Linked DNA regions of Homo sapiens: all the other regions are linked to region 3. Evidence: promoter capture Hi-C in human tissues and cell types (Jung and others, 2019). All regions are on one chromosome and are shown on one strand. The core of a region is centred on a gene start or on the middle of the fragment in contact, and the rest is flanking DNA. Distances in the headings are between cores, read along the strand shown.

The links. Contacts are between HindIII fragments. The study calls those that stand out against the background at their distance.
Region 1: a fragment that was not itself captured here is called in contact with the fragment with the promoter of IL6R in region 3 in 4 of the 25 tissues and cell types used here (H1 embryonic stem cells, bladder, mesenchymal stem cells and 1 more).
Region 2: a fragment that was not itself captured here is called in contact with the fragment with the promoter of IL6R in region 3 in 1 of the 25 tissues and cell types used here (dorsolateral prefrontal cortex).
Region 4: a fragment that was not itself captured here is called in contact with the fragment with the promoter of IL6R in region 3 in 2 of the 25 tissues and cell types used here (heart right ventricle and sigmoid colon).

What each region holds. Positions count from the first base shown.
Region 1 is chr1:154,823,250-154,829,542 of GRCh38, reverse strand. All of the region lies in intron 1 of KCNN3 (potassium calcium-activated channel subfamily N member 3), which reads left to right. Among named protein-coding and RNA genes, the nearest start is that of KCNN3, 44 kb to the left of the region's middle. The HindIII fragment of the contact is 4,353 bases long and covers 565-4,917 here.
Region 2 is chr1:154,853,517-154,859,169 of GRCh38, reverse strand. The region is part of intron 1 of KCNN3 (potassium calcium-activated channel subfamily N member 3); the gene reads left to right. Among named protein-coding and RNA genes, the nearest start is that of KCNN3, 14 kb to the left of the region's middle. RefSeq lists an enhancer at 2,082-2,241. The HindIII fragment of the contact is 5,294 bases long and covers 735-5,653 here.
Region 3 is chr1:154,403,748-154,409,519 of GRCh38, reverse strand. IL6R (interleukin 6 receptor) reads right to left here and starts at 4,177. Exons shown (of 10, transcript NM_000565.4): 1 at 3,806-4,177. The coding sequence starts at 3,890. It overlaps IL6R-AS1 (IL6R antisense RNA 1), which reads left to right and starts at 2,956. Exons shown (of 2, transcript NR_147855.1): 1 at 2,956-3,081; 2 at 5,563-5,772. RefSeq lists an enhancer at 3,047-3,653 and silencers at 3,893-4,042, 4,243-4,372. The HindIII fragment of the contact is 9,903 bases long and covers 1-5,772 here.
Region 4 is chr1:154,022,009-154,027,719 of GRCh38, reverse strand. It overlaps NUP210L (nucleoporin 210 like), which reads left to right. Exons shown (of 40, transcript NM_207308.3): 29 at 123-214; 30 at 2,004-2,178; 31 at 4,423-4,598; 32 at 5,377-5,594. Among named protein-coding and RNA genes, the nearest start is that of RPS27, 34 kb to the right of the region's middle. The HindIII fragment of the contact is 5,326 bases long and covers 1-4,367 here.

The sequences.
Region 1 (6,293 bases), core at 1,492-3,991, 420 kb before region 3:
ACCTCAAGCATCCCCTGGCTGTGGGGTTGAGGGGTGGGCCCAGAACAGAAGCTTCATGTAAGAAGGTGACTGGGCTGGAGAAAAGGTGGCAGTGAGGTTTAGCCCCATCTCCAGCCCCTGGGACCTGTGGTAAAGATGTCCTCACCCACACAGTGGGCTCAGGCAGGCAGGAAAGGTTCCTGGAGCTTGGCCTCTAATATCCATTCTTGAGCTCTGCCGTGGAGAGAGCTGGTCACTCGAGCGCAAAGGAACCACTTGTGGGTTTTCTCCCTCAGCCTGGGCTTCCTGCCCATTCCTGGCTGTCCCAGCCTGATGTGTCCTCCAGGGCCCCCTGACCTGACCCTTGGCCCATCTCTTCTTGACCTTGCACTGTGGGCAGGACAGAGAGGCCAGGGAGAGTGTCCAAGAGGGACAGGATGGGATGTCAAGGTGACGGGGCGATGATGGTGCAGAGGGCAGCCCTTGGGATGAGCTCCTGGGAGCTCCTGGATGGGATTCAGGCTCAGCAGGTTGGGGTTGGAGCGGGTGGGGAATCCCTGGCATTTGGCAATTGCCCAGCACAGTGCCTGGGCATGGTAAGTGCTCAGTGAATATATGTTGTATGAATGCACAAGTGAATGAATGTTTGGCTATGCGGATTGCAAAGGTGTCTTTCTGAAATGCCTCAGGGATATCTTTATAAATTATTGCAGCCATAAAATGCTGATATTGGGGGTGCAGTGAGCAGCTCCGGACTGAGGATCAGCTGCATTTACCTGCACTGACATCTGTATGGCAAGAGAAGGGGTGTTTGACTACAAGGGAATGCATGCTTCTCTTTGTGTGAAAACAGAATGAGATTTTTCGTATGCATGATCTCATCTCATCCCCTAACAGCTGTGAGAAAAGTAAGGGTAGTTCTTGTTTGCAGAGAAGAAACCAGAGGCCCAGAGAGGTTAAAGGACCGATCCAGTGTCACACAGCTAGTTAGTAGCAAAGACATGACTTGAACTCTGGCCTTTTGGTTTCAAATCCTATGTTATTTAGAAAGAGACAAGGAACATCTTCGTTAGCCCCCCCATGACTAAAAATAGGAAGCTTGCCTTGTTGTGTTTGAGGAGAAGATGGTGTGAGTGGGTTTTGTGGCTGACCGTTTCACACCCAACATTTCATCACAGAAATGCCTGGGAAAAGAAAACTCCTAAGAAAAAAAAAAAAAGGAATGAGTGTTGGACATGTCCCTATGACCTGTTTGTCATGGCATGTGTGCTCGGCGCCTTGGTCATCAGGCTTAACTGAACTTCGGAGAAGGTTCTGTCCAGGAGTCTCATTTTACTGGGGGCTGAGGCTTAGGAGAAGGAAGCAACTTGTCCAGGCCAGGCATTCACTATGGAGGAGGCTGAGACTCCTGCGCCCTCGGATGCACACCCTGGGCCTCTGTTCCAGAGCTGTCTTGGCTAGCAAGTATCAGGCCCTTCTCCCTTCTCAGGCTGGTCAGAGGTCCAGCTGCCCTCTGGAGTCCCCAGAGTCTCCCTTCCCACTGTGACAGCATCGGCTGTCTCTCCCGGTCTCAGGTTGGACAGTCCTGGGAGAGAGAGGGTCTGAGTGACTTCATTCTGTCACTTCATTCATTAGTGACTGAAACAGGATTCTGTTAGCTGACTTCTGGTAGGAGCCAGGTTGGGAAGCCGCTCTGAGGATGCTGGGAGGGCCAACAGCTGCAATTATTATTATTATTGTTGTTGTTATTATTATTATTATTATTGAGACAGAGTCTTGCTCTGTCTCCCAGGCTGGAGTGCAGTGGTGTGATCTCGGTTCACTGCAACTTCTGCCTCCTGGGTTCAAGCCATTCTCCTGCCTCAGCCTCCTGAGAAGCTGAGACTACAGGCTTGCACCACCATGCCCAGCTAATTTTTGTATTTTTAGTAGAGATGGGGTTTCACCATGATGGCCAGGCCGGTCTTGAGCTCCCGACCTCAAGTGATCCACCTGCCTTGGCCTCCCAAAGTGTTGGACTTACAGGCGTGAGCCACCACGCCTGGGCTTGCAATTAAATTAGGGTGCTGCACCTGGGAGGAGGAGGCTGTGCTAAGATAGGAGCTGAGGATGATGGGTAAGAATGAAAGATCCCAAGAACTGGACAGTGTGAGATTGAGGAATGAGGAAGGCCAGGGCTTGGTGCTGATGTGGAGGGAAAGAAGCCTCAGGTCTCCATGGAGAACAGCGACCAGTGATGCGGTCTTCCCTTTAGCGGAAGAGGGGCTGGTTTAATTTGCATAGCATTAATTAGCAAGAGTATCTAATTAGGACAACCATTACAGAACCACAGTCATAAGCCGATGTTGAATATCAATCAATTTTGGAGCCTCTCCATGAAATTGAAGGAAAAGTTGACCTTATTAGATAGAAAAGATTTCTAAATCAATTATTTCCCAGATTGAATGCACAAAACATAGTGATGTCAGGCAGGCACATCAGACCTTAATTCAGAAATTATGAACTTCAGATACTATCACCTTTTCCCTTTGGGGGTTTCAGCCAGTGACAGAAATCGTGAATGGACCACATATGTGTATAAACACACACACACACAACCATACACATATACTCTTTGTGGGTAACAGCTTGGTTGGGGAAGGAGCCTGCGCATCATTATCTCAGTTAAGCTAATATTTCAGTTTGGTTCAGTGCCCCTCCAGGTCTCTGTCTGTAAGCATAGCTTTCTCCTTTTTGCGATGACCCAAACAATAAAATACATTTAGAACTTCAAAGTCTCTGGGAAGATATACCATAATCATTACAGTTCTGGCCTGTTTTTGGAAGCTACAAGGCAGGCCAGGAGAGCAATTTATGTGGCTGGCTCAGAAGCTGGGGAACACACTCCATCACCCTCTGCACAGCCTCAGGGGAGGAAAGGCTGGAACAGCTCTAAGAAGCCTCGCTGCAGATATTGGAGGGCCAGCAAGGCGTGGCCGCCAGAGCAGGTGGGGTGCTGGGACACAGGCGGGGCAATGGAACCTGGAGGCAGACAGATCTGGGTGTAAAACCTGGCTTTTGCAAATCCTGGCTTTGCCATGGTGAGAAGTTAGGTAACATGCCCTTGGACAAGTTACCTAACTTCTGAGAGCTTAAGCTTTCTCCTCTGTAAGAGTGGGTTGACAATGCCATCCTTGCATGGTAGGCCCCTATAGATGTGCTTTATTACAGATTATTGTCATCAATGAGAAATCACAGATCTGTGAAGGGCTGGCTCGTGGCCTGGAGCAGAACAGGGACCACATGGATGGAGGCAGCTCTTAGGAATTCTATTGACATATTTTCAGTCTTTTTCTACACTAAAAAAGCTTAAAAATGAAATAATTGGAAATATACTACATATCGTTTTGGGGTCTGAGTTTATCACTTAATAGTCTATCATCAACCATTCTCCATGTCTTCAGATATTGTCTGCAGAAGTGTTTTTTGGTTTTTTTTGTTTTTGTTTTTGTTTTTGTTTTTGTTTTTGTTTTTTTTTAAGATGGAGTCTCGCTCTTCACCCAGGCTGGAGTGCAGTGGCACTGTCTCGGCTCACTGCAAGCTCCGCCTCCCGGGTTCATGCCGTTCTCCTGCCTCAGTCTCCCGAGTAGCTGGGACTACAGGCGCCTGCCACCACGTCCCGCTAATTTTTTGTGTTTTTAGTAGAGATGAGGTTTCACTGTGTTAGCCAGGATGGTCTCGATCTCCTGACCTCGTGATCTGCCCACCTCGGCCTCCCAAAGTGCTGGGATTACGGCCGTGTGCAGAAGTGTTTTTAGTGGCTGCGTAGTGTTCCATCACTGCCTGATCTCAAATCTACTTAACCACTTGAAAATTTGTGGGCATTTAGGAATAAATGACTTTAAAACATGACTCTCAGCTGGGCGCGGTGGCTCACGCCTGTAATCCCAGCACTTTGGGAGGCCGAGGCGGGTGGATCACTTGAGGCCAGGAGATCGAGACCATCCTGGCTAACACGGTGAAACCCCATCTCTACTAAAAATACAAAAAAATTAGCCGGGTGTAGTGGCGGGCGCCTGTAGTCCCAGCTGCTGGGGAGACTGAGGCAGGAGAATGGCATGAACCCGGCAGGCAGAGCTTGCAGTGAGCTGAGATCGTGCCACTGCACTCCAGTCTGGGAGACAGAGCAAGACTCTGTCTCAAAAAAAAAAAAAAAAAAATGATTCTCATCAAATGGGATATAATTCCTAAGCATTCCTGTGTGTTAAGGATTGTTACTCTGTGTTGAAAAGTTCTGAGTCACGGGGCAGAAGGGTTGACCAGTTGACCGCTGGATTCCCTCTGTTCTACAAGCCCCTTATTGGTCCTCAGATAGGAGTGAGTGGGGGCAATGCGTGTGGCAGGTACCCTATCCTGGGATGTATGGCAGCCCGGTGTCACTGCCATCCCCCAAGGAACCATATCAATTTCAAGCTTCACTGATGTTCAGGCAGCAAAGAGAAGATGCTAATTCAACATTTTACCAAATAGAAAACATTCCTAGTTCAGCCAGACTTCTTTGACATGTTTTCCAGCTATTAAAAGCGGTTGGTTAATTTTTTTTATTGACATGCGATGGAGAATGCAAAGAAATCTGTAAGATATCGAGAGTCCCTGTTGATCCAGCACACAGCTTGGTCATCCCACAGGGCTGGAGCTGGCCAGGGAGGTTGTACTGGCCAAAACCAAGAAGCAGGTGGGAGTTGCCTGTTCATGTAAAGGTTTTGAGCTTTAGGACAAAAGGAAGAGGCCCAAAGGAGAGAGCATCTGGCCCCTTTCCCTTCACTGCTTCCTTTAAAATGATGGAAATAGACTTGGATTCTGATGTCAATTCATTGCTGCCAAAAGAAATAAATAAGGGGCTGAAATGTGCAGCTGATCCCAAATCCTTCCCGGGGAGGTGTGATGCTCCCAGATGCTTTCAGACCCCTTTGAAAAGAAAGTTATGGTCATTTCTGGATGGAAAACATTGTGAGCTGTCCCCAGTTGATCCCCAGTTGATTGATGTAGGGAGGTTTGTTTTACCCTAATACAGTCTGAGTGTTCCTGAATTCACCATTTGCTCTTTTCAGCCCCATCTGGGTCTTGTGGTTGGGTAGCATTTCAGGCACCAGGAAGTGCTTGTGAAGATCAAAATATTTTTGAGGGCCAGCACTGTGTTCTGTCCTTCTCTGTGCTTATGTTGGACCAGAACAGCACCAGCCCTCCTTAGGCCCCCATACATGTGTGCTGAGTAAATGATTGCAGGCTGCTCTTATGGAACTGTGGAACATGAAGAGGCTAAAAGAAGACTGGCTTATGTGTAGATCATCTTATGCATAGCAAATAATGGAGACCTTTTCCCATAGTTGGACGACCCCATGCAATGTAGAAAGTCAGAGTTAGTGAATAAGCCAGATCAGAAGCTTCTGGTGTATATCACTGTATATATAGAATCTAGCACACTGTTGGATATCTAGCAAGTGCTCAGCAAATGAGAAGTGGTTGAAATTTTTGTGAAAGAGTGAATGAATTAGTTACTTTATTAGTTTTCTTTGTATCTCCAGTGGGCCTCAAGAACTGTACCAATTAAATGAATGGGGAGATTAATAGACATCAGGGAGAGCACTTTCATTCCATCTCAGCACACAGAGTGGGGCCGAGAGCATGGACCTGGGCACTTGGAAGTCCTGGGTTCGAGTCCCAAGCCCTCCTCTCATTCTTGTGGTTGCCATATTGGACATACCGCCTCACCCCACAGATCTCAGCTGCTCCTCACATCTGCCTCTGAAAGCTGTCTCTGACCCATCCACAGTGGCCTCCCTCCTTTGAGCTCCCCTAGCTCTACTGTAGGTTTCACTCTGGCAATTGATCATACTCTACCTTACCTTGTTGTCTTAAGATGTCATTTAGGTCTATTTAAATGGATGCTTCCCATGTTTCTAAGTTGTTTCCCATTGGAGAGTGTGCCTGAGGGCTTGTGGGCAGTGCTCTGTACTGCGAGTCAGAGGCCTTGACTTTGAATTCTGGCACAAGCCACCCACCCTCCTCTGGGCCTCAGCCTGTAATATCTATAAGGTAAAAGGCCGAGGGCTGTTGTGAGGATGGATGAGAACAAATACGTGAAACCACCTTGTAAACTGTAAGGTGCCTTCCAGAAATCAGGCATCATTCTTCTAATGACCAGCTCCCTGAGGAAGGGAATGTTTCTTTTGTGGCGTGCACCACTCAGGACCAAGTGCAGGGCCGCCATACACACAGTCACTGCTTGGAAATGCTTCCTGGATCTCATCTGCTGCCTTTGCTCAGGGCTGTGT
Region 2 (5,653 bases), core at 2,132-4,631, 450 kb before region 3:
GGGAATGGCCGGAGCTGCCTGCATGGGTGATGTTACCTTCTCCCAAGGTGAGGGCTTGGGGTAGGCATGTTGCTCAGGGTTGAGCCACCGCCTTTGGAGGGCTCAGAGCTGGATGGCATTGGTGGAGGATGCAGGGGAGGCCTCCTCAGGGGGGCACCATACCTGCCCTAGATGGCCAAGCTCTGTAGGCCAGCCAGGTGTGCTAGCCTGGGTGGGCAAGATCCCTGCATATGCCTCCCAGCCCTGTGAGGAAGGCAGGGAAAGGACCATCCTCCTCCTTATAGGACCCCAAGGCCCATAGAAGTTATGCGGTGGCTCACACCTGTAATCCAGCACTTTGGGAGGCTGAGGCGGGAGGATCGGTTGAGTCCAGGACCTCAAGACCAGCCTGGGCAACATAGTGACACCTTGTCTCAAAAAAAAAAAAAAAAAAGTTACATGACTTGTCCGAGGCTACTCAGCATTGTTAGTGGCAGGGGCATAGCTGGAATCCTGGAATTCCTGGTTTTAGTTCTTCCTCTCTTTTTGTTTCTCCCATCCCTCTTCTGGAAACATATCCTGAACACCCACTGTGTGGCAAGCCCTGCTCCAGGCGGCAGGAGTGCAGAGAATCTGTGCCTTACAGACTCCAGGGGGGTCTCTCCCCAGCCAGATGTGTTGTTCTCCACCAACTCTTCCTAAGAGAGCACAGGCTTTCCCCATAGACCTGGATTCAAATCCTGGCTATTTGGCTGTGTGGCCTTGCGCAGCGGCCCCTTTATTTGGGAGGTGGTATTTTAATTCCTCTTGTGGGTGGAGAGGTGAAGAATTCAACGTGGGCCAGAGCTGTCACCCAGGGGGCTCTTGTCCATGCTGGGCAATGGTGGGTTTTACCTTGGTTGTTTCTTCTGAGAGCTCAGTGGCCTTGGGATCATGCAAGGTCCCTCACAGCTGGGCCCATGGTTCCCAGCCCCTCCTGCTCTGGGCTGGACCTGGTGTTAAGCTCTGCCAAGATGCTTTCCCCTGCTCTGGGAGAGTAATGGTGCTGAGCCTGGTGGGAGGGCATTTTGGCAGAAGACACCTGACGGGGTGCACACTATGTGCCAGCGATGGAAAGATCCCTTAAGAGTGAAATGAAATTGATGCAAGCTGAGAGCAAGTCTAGGATGGAGTTGAGTCATGAGGGTTTCCTGGTGGGTGGACGGGATCATATAGAAAGAAAGCCTGTGTCCACAGCAGCTTGGGGGAAGGCACCGCTCTCATTACATGGGAACTTATTTTTCCTTCCGTAAGAATGACTCCAAAGCAACACCGGGTCTTATTCAGGAGTGAAGAGGTGACAGGCGGTGGAGAAGAGAATATTTATTAAGGGCCTACTATGTGTGTTTACACACCTCATCTCATTAAGTCCTCACAACAACCCTGTGAGGTAGATATAATTCTCCCCATTTTACAGATGACAGACCCAAGGCTCCGAGAGTTTAAGTGACTTGCTCAGGGTCTCACAGCTGGGAGGTGGTGGAGTTTGGATTTGCACACAGGGGAGTGTCTCCGACGCCCTCACATTGTGCAGCAGACATGCTTTTGCATATCAGATCCTAGACTGGGCTCTTTCAAGCCAAAAAGCTTCTCCTGCCCTGCCTGAGCTCTCCACTCCCGCCCACCCCACCCCTTACTGTGCCACCCTCAGTCCCCTGCCAGCCTCCCCCAGAGCCTCAGGGGATGTTTTGTGCTCATGGAGTGGGGTAAGGGTAGAGGGAGGAGGGGAGGAGGATGCTGGCAGTTTAGATACAGGGGTTTGCTGAAGCTCCAGGTGCCGTGCTGGGCTCTGGGGCTGAGGAAAGTCTCCTGTGGGCCCTGGAGGGGCCACCCGAGCCCTCAACAGCATGCGTCCTAGTGTTCTTGCCGCAGCTCTGTGGCTTCTCGGCTGTGCAGCCTTGTTGAGAAAACTGACCTCTTTGAGCCTCAGTCTCCAGGTCTGTGAATGGGGTTAACAGTGTTTTCTCTCTCTCATGAGAATGGGTGTCATGAGGAATAAATGAGACAAGGGCACTGCCTGGCGTGTTCTGGTTGGTTCTGGGGGTTCAGCACCAAATAGACATGGAGCTCACAGGCTGGTGGGGGAGGCAGGCACTGAACAAGTAACAACAGGTCTGATGTGAGCTTTGCGAGAGACAAGGGCACACACATGTGGCTTGGGTTTGACCCACAAGCCTGAGACTTGGTGTCCCACGCCTCCGTCTGCTCCCCTTCCCCCCATTTCCTGAAGGTCCATCTCACCCTCACTTCTTCCATCCTCCCTCATATCTGTCTCCCAGGCCATCCTCTGATTCTTCTATATGGGCTATCTAGCCTGGTGTTAGGAGAACAGGCTTTAGTGCCAAGCAGATATTGGGTACAGCGCTGGCTGTGTCACTTACTGTAGGCTGTGTGGCTTTGGGAAGCTGTCTCAGTGCTTTGATTCACAGTTTCCATGGGGGTGAATCCTAACCTGGCCGCTGGGGCTGTCATGAGAGTTAATGAGATATTGCTGTTTGTAAGGCAGAGGACATGGTTTCTGGCACACATGGAGCGCTCTGTGAAGGCCAGCTGAGTTGCAGGTGAGGAGAAGCATCCTAGGCTAGGTGTGGGGCAGCTTAGTTTCTGGTCCTCTGTTTTGTCATCTAGAGAGTGAGAGAAGGAGCCTGAGGAGGGGATGTTTCCTGCACTGGCCATCTGCGGGAAGGTCGTGAGCACCAGATGGAATTTCGGAGAGAACTGGAAGAAAGCTACGCTATTCCAGCTGGCGGGGGTCCTCATCGATGGTGCATGTTGGCAGGGTGGGCTGCGGGGGGCGTTATCTTCCTATCCCACAAGCGAAAGCCTGTGAAGACATCGTGGCTAAGGGGATTTTCTCACTCTCAGGAGACAGCTGAGAGACAGGCCCTTCTGGCCAGCCTCCCTCCCTGCTGCCTCCTCCCTGCAGGCCAGCCCTTGGCACGAGTCCTGCTTGTCTCCTGAACCCTCCTAGCAGCAGGGATTTAATTACTATAATGTAAGTAGCTGTGGCTTGAGGCCTTCTGGTGGAGGGGAAACAGATTTGTCTTCTCACTGGGAGAATAAAAGTCTATGGAAAGGAAAAGAAATGTACTTTTCCCCGAGGTACCTGAGGCTGTTGGGCTCAGGGGAGCTTCCCTCAGGGCGGGGAGAGGGAGCATGGGTGGCAGCGGGAGGAGGCACCACGTCTGACTCAAGGACCCTTGGCGCTTGCTTTTGCTCTCTGTGGGATCACTCAGCTAAGCTGCCTCAGTTTCCCCAATGACCCTGCTAACAGATCAGCCTGACATTCAGTAGGCATCTGTCAAGCACCTACCATATGCTAGACACTTAGAAACTTCCAGCTGAGTAGCCAGCCCAGGCGGAAAAATAATTTCATTCATTTGACAAAGTTATTGAATGCCTGTTATGTGCCAGTGTATTGTTCTAGGCATCACAGATATACAGTCATGCGTTGCAACGACGGGGACGCAGTCTAAGAAATGTGTCATTAGGCAATTTCATCATTGTGTGAGCATCATGCAGTGCACTTACACAGACTAGGTGGCATGGCCTTCTGCACACGAGGCTGTATGGTGTAGCCTACTGCTCCCAGGCCTGTATTGAATACTGTAGGCAATCATAACACAATGGCAAGTATGTATCTAAACATAGAAAAGGTACAGTAGAAATACTGTACAATGGATACAAAATACTACACCTGTATAGGGCACTTACCATGAATGGAGCTTGCAGGACTGGAGGTTGCTGTGGGTGAGTCAGTGAGTGAGTGGAGAGTGAATGTGAGGGCCTAGGACATGACTGTAGACTAGTGTAGGCTTTGTAAACACTGTTCACTTAGGCTAACTACATTTATTTAAAATATTTTTTTCTTCAATAACAAGTTAACCTTACCTTACTATAATTTTATTTATTTATTTATTTATTTATTTATTTTGAGACAGAGTCTCACTCTGTAGCCCAGGCTGGAGTGCAGTGGCACGATCTCGGCTCACTGCAACTTCAACCTCCCAGGTTCAAAGAATTCTCCTGCCTCAGCCTCCTGAGTACCTGGGATTATAGGCACGTGCCATCACACCCGGCTAATTTTTGTATTTTTAGTAGAGACAAAGTTTCTCCATGTAGGCTAGGCTAGTCTCAAACTCCTGACCTCAAGTGATCCACCCGCCTTGGCCTCTCAAAGTGCTGGGATGACAGGCATGAGCCACTGCGCTTGGCCAAATTTTTCACTTTATAAGCTTTTTATACTCTTTTGTAATAACACAAACACATTATACAATTGCACGAAAGTATTTTCTTTATATTCTTACTCTATAAGTTTTTTTCCATTTTAGAAATATTTATTTAAAAAGATGCATTTTTACTTACAAAATCTTTTTTGGTTAAAAACTGAGACACAAACACACGTTAGCCTGGGCTGACACAGGTTCAGGATCATCAAGATGTCACGAAGTGATAGGAATTTTTCAGCTCCATTATAATTGTACAGGACCTTGACTGAAATGTCATTATGGGACACATGACTGTAGTAGAAAAAACCCACAAAAGAGAAAAATCTTTGCTGTCACGAATTTACATTTTAATAGATAAGCCTGATAGTAAACTATCTAAGTTAATTATATATTATGTTCGATGGTGATAAGTGCTATGATGAGTGTTATGAAGAGCCTCTTCCCTCCAAGATACAACTTCTTACTCCATTGACAAGTCTTAGATCCCAATCTGTTAAGGCCCCAACTAATTTTACAGCCAGAGTTAGATAACAGGAAAAAGACATCTCTTTTCCTTTCATCATTGTCATCATCAATAACAATCACAATTGTTAGGACCACTCTGGATGGGAGTGCAGGGGCTTCTGAGAGGAGAGTGGTCATATTATTTTATTTATTTTCAAATTAATTTATTATTATTATTATTTTTGAGATGGAGTCTTGCTCTGTCGCCCAGGCTGGAGTTCAGTGGCCCAATCTCGGCTCACTGCAAGCTCCGCCTCCCGGGTTCACGCTATCCTCCTGCCTCAGCCTCCCGAGTAGCTGGGACCACAGGTGCCTGCCACAACACCTGGCTAATTTTTTGTATTTTTAGTAGAGACGGGGTTTCACCATATTAGCCAGGATGGTCTTGATCTCCTGACCTCATGATCTGCCTGCCTTGGCCTCCCGAGATGCTGGGATTATAGGCATAAGCCACCGCGCCCAGCTTTTTTTTTGTGAGACGGAGTCTCACTCTGTCACCCAGACTGGAGTGCAGTGGCGTGATCTCGGCTCACTGCAACTTCCGCCTCCCAGATTCAAGTGATTCTCCTGCCTCAGCCTCCTGAGTAGCTGGGATTGCAGGCACATACCACCATGCCCAGTTAATTTTTGTATTTTTAGTAGATACTGGGTTTCATCATGTTGGTCAGGCTGGTCTTGAACCCCTGACCTCAAGTGATCTGCCTGCCTTGCCCTCCCAAAGTGCTGGGATTACAGGCATGAGCCACCATGCCCGGCTGAGAGTGGTCATTTTAAATAAATGCTCAGAGCTAGGTGCAGTGGCTAATGCCTGTAATTCTAGCACTTTGAGAGGCCGAGGCAGGAGGATCGCTTGAGCTCAGGAGTTTGAGACCAGCCTAGGCCATATAGTGAGACGCCTTCTA
Region 3 (5,772 bases), core at 2,928-5,427:
TATTTCTATTTTCTAGAACACTGGCTGTCAAAGAAGTTAAATCACTTGCCCAAGGTGTTATCATTTTTACTTGGCAGTGCAGGGCAGAGATGTGCCTGGCTTGAAGACCTTAGCCATCACCTATGCAAAATGAGCTGTGTTCAGGTGGAGGAGAGCAGAAGGCAGAGGGGGATAAAGGAAAAGAGAACAGAAAACCTCTGGAAGAAACTGGTTAACACTCTAGCCCAGCACCGTCCAGTAGGGCTTTCCACGATGATGGAAGAGATCTGTATCTGCACTGTTCAGTACAGTAGCCACTAGCAATGTGAGTGTTGAGCACTTAAAATGTGACTAGTGCAACTAAGAAACTAAGTTTTTATTTGATTTCATTTAAATTAATTTTTTGGAGACAGGGTCTCCTGTCGCCCAGACTGGAATTCGGTAGTGCAAACATGGCTCCATGCAGACTGGACTCAAGTGATTCTCCCACCTCAGCCTTCTCAGTAGCAGGGACTACAGGCTCATGTCACTGTGCCCAGCTAATTTTTTAAATCTTTTTGTAGAGACGGCATCTCACCCTGTTGCCCAGGCTGGTCTCCAACTCCTGAGCTCAAGAGATCCTCCTGCCTCAGCCTCCCAAAGTACTGGGATTACAGGCGTGAGTCACTGCGCTGGCATAATTTAAATTTAAATAGGTACACGTGGCTAGTGGCTACCGTATTACAGAGCACAGCTTCAATCCAGACTAGATTCATTGACTGGAAACTCTTTTGCTTGCTGGGTCTGTGGCTTCCAGGCCTGGTGGGACCAGGATTCAGGAGACGGGGGAAGGGAGTGTATATTTTCAGCAGTCAGCACCTAGGTTACTTTGTGTAATCTACAAATACCCAGTGAGGGGAGTATTTGTTTACCCTGGCTGCTGAGGGCTGGAGATGAGGGTCAGGGTCAGGATCAGTGTGCCTGCTGCCTTGGGATCTTGGTCCTCAGTCAGAGGAACTTCCTCTCTCTAACCACCCCCTACCCCAAGCCAGACAATCTGTTCACGGGTAGTTGGTACCCAGTGGCCCGGTCAGAGTCTGGGGTTTCTCAGCCCTTCTCAGGATTTACCCATGACCATTTTCAGGCTCCTTTTAGGGTGGAGTCTGCATAGCTGATCCTACACAGGCCTCACAGGCTCTACACCGACTCAAGAAATGTTTGCTGCAATGAATAAACAAGCAGCAAGCCAAAGCAAGGAGAGATTTCTGGCAACAGAGAGCCCGAAGCGGGAGGGCCTTCATTCAGTTCCTCAATGACACCATTTAGGCAGCCGTCCTCAAACCTGACAGTGCCTAAGAATCACAAGGGGCAGTTTGTTTAAAAGGACATGCCCCAGGCCTCACTCCTAGGTGTTCTTATTTAATAAATCTGGGTTAGGGTTCAAAAATCATCATGTTTACCAAAGCCCTCCCACCCAGCACACACACCAGATCTGATGCTAGGCTCAGAACTAAGCTTTTGAGAAATACTGATTTAGGGTGAGGCTAGGCACGTGTGTGGGTAATGGGGGCAGGAAGAGGTGCCCTAGAAGGAAATTCAGAAGCTGAGATAGCTCTTTGAGATACTTAAAGGTATACATACTTCTTTTGTGTATTTTCTTGCATTGCAGTAGGAAGAGGGAACTTGAGTCACCCAAGTCCAGCCTTCCAGCACCAGAGTGTTGGAACCGGCAGAAGCCTAAGTCCCAGCTAGTCCAGGCCCTTAGACAACGAGTACACCTGAGAAGTCCTGGCAGCTCCAGGGTGTGTGGGCGGCAGCTGATCCCGAGGAAAACAAACCTCTGGGCTCTAAGAGCCCCGCAGGCTGTACCTGCGGATTTCCCCTCTCAGCCAACTCCAGCCTCTGCTCCCCCTCTGCTCCTCACTTCTCTAAAGCGAAACATCTCACAGTCATTTGCTCCATGCTTCCTGTACGATTTCTTTATTTTTACTCTCCAGTTTGTGGGCTGAGTCTGTGTGGGTGTGGGAGAGGGGCTGGGTATTTCTACTTCTCTGCATTTTCCTTCTGAGCTGGGAGGACTTTCACTTCCTCCCCAGTCTCTCAGTTCTGCCTTTCATGGGCTGTTCAGGCCATGAGACCACCTCTCCTAATCCTTCCTGAGCACCAGGGAAATGGAAAACTGACTGTAACTGGCTGCCCTGGAAGGGCCTAGCATCCACTCAGGAGCAACAGGTGGTGGCAACTACAGCAGTAACAGTAACCTCCCTGGGGCAGGAGCCTTGGGCTGGCGTGACAGCAGCAGAGGCAGCCAAGGGAGCCCTGCTTGCTCCTGAGGCCATCCGAGCCCTGGAACCTGTCTTGCATCCCTCTAACACCACCATGGGCAAGCCTGGGCCTCCACTTCCCTCCCTCAGCCTTTTCTGTCCCAGCACTCAGCCAGACAAGAGTGACTCTCAGCTTGCCCCAATGCCCCCAGCTCTGCCTGCTGATCTAGTTCTATATTTGAGAGTCTTAGACATCTACCACACTGGAGCACAGAGCCACGGGAGGGGTTGGCCTCCATCACCGGGGCCTGACAACCTGCCATCCCGCCATCCCAACCTCCCTGAACCTCAGTCTCCTCTTTCAAACAAAGTTATATGTAGATACAGTGGAGGATTAGAAAACATTGAATGGGTGCCCCAATCAACAGTGTCTGTTACTGGCAGGAGTTATAAATGTGTATTGAAAATGGAATCCCTTCTTTTTTTCTTCCAATCATAAGGACCACAACCATCCAAAAAGCAAAGAGAGCCTCAGACACTCCAGCTCAGCCTCTAGTTGCAGAAAGTCACCTCCTCAAAGGGAGAGATCAGTGTTCACCTAGGACTGGAATTCAGTGTGATCTAGTGGTTGAAAGTCTTAGCCTTCAGCCTCCCCAGCCTGTCAGCTGTTCCAGAAGCCTGTCAGCTGCCCCTTAGTTTTCTGCTGTGTCCTCAAAGAAGCACTGGGACCCTAAAATAAACCTCTGGAGAGCCAGTTGCCCAACTCTTCCAGAAGAGAGACTAGACACGCAGCTGGGCATGCGGCCAGAGCCCAAGAAAAGCCTGGTTTGCCAGGGGCAGATTACAGTCAACGGGAGCAGTAAGTGCCTCTGCCCTCTCCCTCACGGGTCCTTCTCTTTTCTAGAGGGGAGTCCAGCACGTGCCAGCCCCAGGAGGTCTCACTCCCTTGCCAGCCTCCCGACTCAATTCCCAGGACTGGGGCACTTGGCTTCCCAGAGTTGGTGGCTGCCAAAGTGACTCCGTGCAGCGGGAAGATCCGTGACTCAGCGCCCGTGATGTCAGTCCCTTCATAGTCAGGGCACTGTCATCCACACATGCACCCGCGGGGGTGGGGGGAGGACCAGGCGAGGTGGACCCCCAATGCAGAGGGAGAAGAGGGGCGCTGGTACAAAGGACTCCCCAGGCGGGTACATCACCCCGCTGGGGCGCGCCCTCTCGGGCAGTCTCCCCTTAGAGTAACCTGGGACGCGGTTGTGTAAAGGCTCCTGGGGGCACTGGGAAGGAAGCTCGAGAGTCAGGTTTGCAAGGACACAGTCCTGTACACAGACCGCAGGGTTCCCGCACAGCTTCACCGGGCATTCCGGGGAGCGCTCCGGACCAAGGGAGCAAGCGCAGCAGGGGGCGCAAGAGCCACTACCCGCGACCACACAGCTAGGTACCCGCGGGGCCTCAAGGCAGCCACAGAAAAGGGGATCCGTCGCACCTCCTTTCCTCCCTCCAGCCTCCCACAGACTGCGGTGACCAAGGCGGTTTCCCCCAGCCGCTAGCTGCCCCAGCCCTCCAGGTGCGCCCGAAGCCCTTACCCTGCGCAGGGCAGCGCCTTGGGGCCAGCGCCGCTCCCGGCGCGGCCAGCAGGGCAGCCAGCAGCGCGCAGCCGACGGCCAGCATGCTTCCTCCTCGGCTACCACTCCATGGTCCCGCAGAGGCGGACAGGCTAATGGGAACCGGGCGGCAGGGGTGGCAGGGGCGGGGCGGGGCGGTGGGCGGGCAGGCGGGCTCAGGCCCCGGGGGCAGCCCCCATCCGCAGGAGCCCGGCTCTCTACACACACTGCGAGTCCCTCGGCCCCGCGCCGCGCTCGGCTCCTCTCCCTCTGGCCCGGCTCAGTGTCAGTGCGACTTCCCACTCGCACATGACTCAGAGCGGCGGACGGTCCTGGCAACGCAGGAAAACATTTGAGGAACTCGCGCTGGAGCGTCTCTGGGCCGTCCCAGGGTGCGGTTACGAAAGCCGGAGCGGATGGCGCAACAGCCCCGCGCACCGGCCGACCGAGGGGGTGGCTTCCTGCCACAGCGCCGCACCTGAGCGGGGAGAACAGGGGACCGCCAGCCCCACCAGAGCCCTTCCTCCCGGTTCTGTTGATGAGAAAAGGGCGTATCAGCCACCAGTGGGCAGTGGCCTAGTTTTGATTTTTGGTTTCGTGAACGGGATTACGCTGTGAAAGGCACACCTGGAGAGCCCTCGAGGAGGCGATGTTCCTCTTACCCTTAGGGTAAAACAGTGCTTGGTAGCCCGGTTGCCCACTGGAATCAGCCAGGAGCCCTAAAACCCACCAATGTCTGGGTCGGGTCTCCAGAGATTCTGATTTCATCGGTCTGGGGTGAGGCTTGGGCATCGGAAGACTCACCACCGTAAAGGCACAGTCTTTCTGCCCAGCTGCTCCTCGCAGGCTGCAGCAGAGGCAAGGAAACGGTTTGGACTTTGCAGTCAGATAGACCTGGGTCCCCATTTAGACCTACCATCTACTGTGTCTGTGACTTCGGTTCAGAATCTGAGTCTCCATTTCCTCATCTGTCAGAGATAAGAAAGCCTATGCTGCCCAGGGTTATTAGGAAGGTTCTGTGGATGGCACCTAAACACCTGACACACGGTCTGGGCCACACGTGCTCAGTAGACATCAGAACGTTCATGGCTGCCCTCCTGACTTGACAGACAGACACTAACACCAGGGGCAGTGGCTCACGCCTGTAACCCCAACACTTTGGGAGAGCCGGGTGGGTGGATTGCTTCAGTCCAGGAATTCTAGACCAGCCTGTGTAACAAAGTGAGACCCCCATTTCTATAAAAAAATTTAAAAATTAGCTGGGTGTGGTGGTACACACCTATAGTCCCAGCTACTAGGGAAGCTGAGGTGGGAAAATTGCTTGAGTCCGGGAGATCCAGGGTACAGTGAGCCGTGATTGGGGGCTGCTACTCCAGCCTGGATGACAGTGAGACCCTGTCTGGAAAGAAAAAAAAAAAAAGAAAAGAAAGAAAGAAAAGGAAGGGAGGAGGGAGGGAGGGAGGGAAGGAGGGATAGAGGGGAAGGAAGGAAAGGAAGGAGAGAAAAAAAGAAAGAAACAAGCACCTGGCTTTTGAGCAACCACAAGGACCTTGAAGGGGACCATCTGTCCGTCCCTTGGAGGGGAACTCTCTCAAGGACCCCCACAGAGCCTAAAGCTGATAGGATGGCCTCATAGCTGAATCTGGAGGGAAAGAAAAATGCTGAAATAAAGTTTAGGCTGAGAAGCTTCTAGACCAGCAACTGCTCATTAGAATGTGTTTTTCTACCTTTGGTTTCAGGCCAATCCTAACCCAGATCAAAGATCCTGGGACAGCTGGAACAGGCATGGCCTAATGGAACTCCCAAGTGGACAGGGCCAGGCATGGACGGACAGAGCTTCTGAAACAGTCCTCAGACCCCGTGCATCTGGATCTTTCTGTAGGAACCACCCATCAGCAGTGCCAGACAGAACCAAGCACATGCACTGATCCACCGCACGATGGGAGCTG
Region 4 (5,711 bases), core at 455-2,954, 380 kb after region 3:
TGTTGATTCGTAGTTGTCATTTATTTGCATGTAATCTCTTCGGGATTATACTGAAGTCTATATGTAAGTAAAAGTCATAATTTGTCTTTGCCAAAAATGAGGAAAACATTTTCTCATTATAGGTGTTTGAAAAACTCCAACTCTTCTATCCAGAGTGCCAACCAGAGCAGATTCTGATGCCTATAAATTCTCAGCTCAAACTCCATACCAACAGGTAAGGAAAAGGGAGAATAAGGAAGTGCCAGGATCTAAGCTTAAGTATTTTCAGTAAAACATTGACATAGAAAGAACACTTTTGCCTTCTAGGAGATTTTTCCCAAATAATTTTTTGTGTGAGGTGAAATTCCCATAATGTAAAACTATTGTAAAGTGTAAAATTCAGTGGCATTTAGTACATTCACAATATTGTGTATTCAGCATCTCTATCTAGTTCCAAATATTTTTATCACCACCAAAGGAGATCCCATACCTGTGAAGCAGTCACTCTTCTTTCTTTCCTCCTCGCAGCCCCTGGCAATCACTAATCTGCTTTCTGTGTACGGTATTAGCTATCCTGAATGTATTTCATATAAATGGAATCATACAGTATGCAACGTTTTGTGTTTTTTGTTTTTTTTTTTTTGTTTTTTTTTTTTTTTTGAGACAGTCTCGCTCTGTTGCCCAGGCCAGCGCACAGTGGCACAATCTCAGCTCACTGCAACCTCCACCTCCCAGGTTCAGGCAATTCTCCTGCCTCAGCCTCCTGAGTAGCTGGGATTACAGGTGCCTGCCACCACACCTGGCTAATTTTTGTATTTTTAGTAGAGATGGGGTTTCACCATGTTGGCCAGGCTGGTCTTGAACTCCTGACCTCAGGCGATCCTCCCGGCTCGGCCTCCCAAAGTGCTGGGATTATAGGTGTGAGCCACCACGCCCAGCCTTGTGTTGGCTTCTTTAAGTTAGCATAATGTTTTTGAGGTTCATCCATGTTGTAGCATGTATCAGTACTTCTTCCTTTTTATGACTGAATAGTATTCCATTATATGGAAATACCACATTTAGTTTATAATTTCATCTCCTAATAGAAATTTGGGGCTGGGCACAGTGGCTCATGCCTGTAATCCCAGGCCTCTGGGAGGCCAATGCAGGTGGATCACCTGAGGTTGGGAGTTCGAGACCAGTCTGATCAACATGGAGAAACCCCAACTCTACTAAAAATACTAAATTAGCCAGGGGTGGTTGCACATGCCTGTAATCCCAGCTACTCAGGAGGCTGAGGCAGGGGAATCACTTGAACCCGGGAGGCGGAGGCTGCAGTGAGCCAAGATCACGCCATTGAACTCCAGCCTGGGCAACAAAAGCGAAACTCCGTCTCAAAAAAGAAAAGAAATTTGGGTTGTTTTCACCTTTTGGCTATTGTGAATAGTGCTGCTATGAATATTCATTTGCAAGTATTTACCTGAATACCTGCTTTCAATTGTTTTGGCTGAATAATTATTTTTTTGAAACGGAGTTTTGCTCTTGTCCCCCAGGCTGCAGTGCAAATGGTGTCATCTCGGCTCACTGCAACCTCAGCCTCCCAGGTTCAAGCCATTCTCCTGCCTCAGCCTCCCGAGAAGCTGGGATTACAGGCACCCGCCATCATGCCCAGCTAAAAATTTTTTTTTTTTTTGTATTTTTAGTAAAGACGGGGTTTCACCATGTTGGCCAAGCTGGTCTTGAACTCCTGACCTCAGGTGATCCTCCCGCCTTGGCCTCCCACAGTGCTGGGATTACAGACATGAGCCACCACACCCGGCCTAAATAATTCTTTAATTATAAATATGTAATAAGATTTGATTTTAAAGAAATAAGCATAATCCAAAGGCAGACTTTTACCTGAGGAACAAATAATTACACACGTGGAGAATGGCAAGCAGTTTTCTCGAGTACATCCCCTAACAGTAATCCTGGAAATTTTTACTCTTTTCTCTCTGGTCAGACAGGACCCCAAAAAGATGCCACTTCCTTTCCTTGTTCCCTAGGGAAGGAGCTGCCTTCGTGAGTTCTCGTGTTCTCAAGTGTTTCCCTAATTCATCCGTCATTGAGGAGGATGGTGAAGGGCTCCTGAAAGCTGGTTCCATTGCAGGTACTGCTGTATTGGAAGTCACTTCTATAGAACCTTTTGGAGTCAACCAAACAACCATAACTGGGGTCCAGGTGAGTTCATGGACTTACTAAAAAAAACAAATAAATAAAAGTCATACCCTGGCCTTAAAAAGCAGAGTTTCTTTTTTAAAAAACTAGAAATTTTCTTATCATGCCATTAAAGAAAAAAAGAAAAAGAAAAGAATTAGAAACTTCTGTATCATGAGAGAACATGAACCAGAAAAAAAAAAAAAAAAAGGAGAAGAAGAAGAAGAAGAAACTCTCTGGGAGTCAGAAATGAACCTATAAGAGGCCAGTCTTGACATGGTTATAAGCCATAAAATTAAAATGAACTTTAGAGCCCTTGTTATAAAACAGATCAGCCTGGCCGGGCACGGTGGCTCACGCCTGTAATCCCAGCACTTTGGGAGGCTGAGGCAGGCGGATCACGAGGTCAGGAGATCGAGACCATCCTGGCTAACACGGTGAAACCCCTTCTCTACTAAAAATACAAAAAATTAGCTGGGCGAGGTGGCGGGCGCCTGTAGTCCCAGCTACTCAGGAGGCTGAGGCAGGAGAATGCCGTGAACCCCGGGGGGCGGAGCCTGCAGTGAGCCAAGATCACGCCACTGCACTCCAACCTGGGCGACAGCAAGACTCCATCTCAAAAAAAAAAAAAAAAAAAAAAAAACAGATCAGCCTAAATTTATATGATTGTCTTCCTAGCAGCTTTGGCAAAAGGACTGGTATCGGAGGAGTGTAGAATGATTGCTATCAAAATTGGCTGGGCTGGGTGACTCACGCCTGTAAGCCCAGCACTTTGGAAGGCTGAGGCAGGAGAATCACTTGAGGCCAAGAGTTTAAGACCAGCCTGAGCAACATAATGAGACCCCTATCTCTACAAAAAATGAAAAAAAAAAAAAAATAGCCGGGCTTGGTGGCACATGTCTGCAGTCCTAGCTGCTTGGGAGGCTGAGGTGGAGGATCACACGAACCTAGGAGTTCGAGGCTGCTTTGTGCTGCAATTGAACTGCTGCACTGCAGCCTGGAAAACAAAGCAACAATCTGTTTCTTTTTAAAAAATTAAGCTTTGCTACAAGAATTAAAAAATTGAGAAAAGACCTCAGAGATAAGTTAGTCTTAACACGAAAAAAAATTTTAGACATTAAACATCTACTATATACTATGTTCGTCATTGTATGTATATTATCTCTTTTAACTACCACAAAAGCCCTATGAGGTAGGCATTATTATCCCCATCTAACTGTTAACTGATAAGAAACCTGAGACCCAGAAAAGTTACATGAGGCTATGAAATGATAAAGCTATGATTCAAACGCGGGCTTCACTTACTGTATCACAGCTCTCTTACAGTGTGAAAACACAATATAGATTGTGTTCCTGATAAGTAATTGATTATTTAACCATAAATATTGAGCACTCTGCATGAAATGGATGAATTATAGTCCTTTCCTCATAAAGCTCCAGCTTCTCTTCACATTCCCACAGCTTTAAAAATTAAAAACCTGGCTGGGCACAGTGGCTCACGCCAATCCCAGCACTTTGGGAGGCCGAGCCGGGTGGATCACGAGGTCAGGAGTTCAAGACCAACCTGGCCAAGATGGTGAAACCCCCATCTCTACTAAAAATACAAAAAAATTAGCCGGGCATTGTGGCGGGCGCCTGTAATCTCAGCTACTCAGGAGGCTGAGGCAGAGAATTGCTTGAACCCAGGAGGCGGAGGTTGCAGTAAGTTGAGATTGCACCACTGCACTCCAGCCTGGGCGAGACAGCAAAATTCCGTCTCAAAAAAAAAAAAATTAAAAACCCATTTCAAGCCGGGCACAGTGGCTCACGCCTATAATTCCAACACTTTGGGAGGCCAAGGCGGGCAGATCACTTGAGGTCAGGAGTTTGAGACCAGCCTGGCCAACATGGTGAAACCCCATCTCTACTAAGAATAGAAAAATTAACCAGGCGTGGTGGCAGATGCCTGTAATCACAGCTACCTGGGAGGCTGAGGTAGGAGAATTGCTTGAATGCAGGAGGCAGAGGTTGCAGTGAGTCAAAATCATGCCGCTGCACTCCAGCCTGGGTGACAGAGTGAGATTCTGTCTCAAAAAAAAAAGAAAAGAATTTCCTATGCTGCTATGCTGTCATATTTCTTTTCACTCTGACTTAAGTCATCTCACATCAAAAGCTATTTCCTATGGAAAAGAAACATCACTCTTTATCATTGATTATAAGTCTCAGAATATGGTTGCAGCACTTCTCCAGTGCATCTTTCTCTGTACCAGTAGGTTTTGTCTCCCACAGGTAGCACCGGTGACATACCTGCGAGTGAGCAGCCAACCCAAGCTATACACAGCCCAAGGAAGGACCCTGTCAGCATTTCCCTTGGGCATGTCTCTTACCTTCACTGTTCAGTTTTATAATAGTATCGGAGAGAAATTCCACACACACAATACCCAGCTTTATCTGGCTCTGAACAGGTATGGAAGTCAAAGGAATGGTATTGACACTATGGTAGAAATCTTGCATATTAGGCTAGTATTATATAGCAGCTCCAGTAAATTCCTCTCACATTCTGAATTTGGAAGTTGATCTTTCTTTTGTTAAAAAAAATTTTTTTAAGTGAGGCCAGGTGGGTGGCTCACACCTGTAACCTCAGCACTTTGGGAGGCTGAGGAGGGAGGATCACTTGGGCCCAGGAGTTCGAGACCAGCCTGGACAACATGGTGAAACCCCATCTCTACAAAAATACAAAAATTAGCTGGGTGTGGTAGCGTGTGCCTGTAGTCCCAGCTACTAGGGAGGCTGAGGTGGGAGGATCACTTGAGCCCAGGAGGCAGAGGTTGCAGTGAGCAGAGATTGCGCCACTGCACCCCAGCCTGGGTGACCAATTAAGACTGTCTTAAAAAAAAAAAAAAAAAAAAAAGACCAGACTTAGGCAATGGTATTAGTTGTCACTTAAGAAAAAATGCAGGATATCTTAAATCTGTCAAGTTCTAATTCACTAAAAGATCCATAGGGAGCTAACTGGAGTATTATTATCAAAAGGCTTTACTGGAAAAAAAAAAAAGCCTTCCTGGGAACTATACGTATGAAGGTAATAGACTGATCCTTGGCCCATACTTACTTACTCTTTATTGTGGAATTCCTTCTGAACTTCTGAGCTGTTGAATATAAAATGTGGTAGGGTGTTCTCCAGAACTATTTTCTAACTATTGTCTCTTTTTAAAGATTTCTACCTTTAATGTCTACTTGCAGAGATGACTTGCTGCATATTGGACCAGGGAATAAGAACTATACTTACATGGCCCAGGCTGTGAACAGAGGGCTGACACTTGTGGGGCTTTGGGACCGGAGACATCCAGGCATGGCAGATTATATTCCTGTTGCTGTAGAGCATGCCATTGAGCCAGACACCAAGCTTACCTTTGTTGGAGATATCATCTGCTTCAGTACTCACCTTGTCAGCCAGCATGGTATGTATACATTCCCTTTCTCAAACTTACAATTGATAGTTGTGGGGATTAAAAAGCAGTTATTAAAAAAAAAAGCAGTTATTAATCCCTTGGACTGGTATAGTGGTTTATACCCAT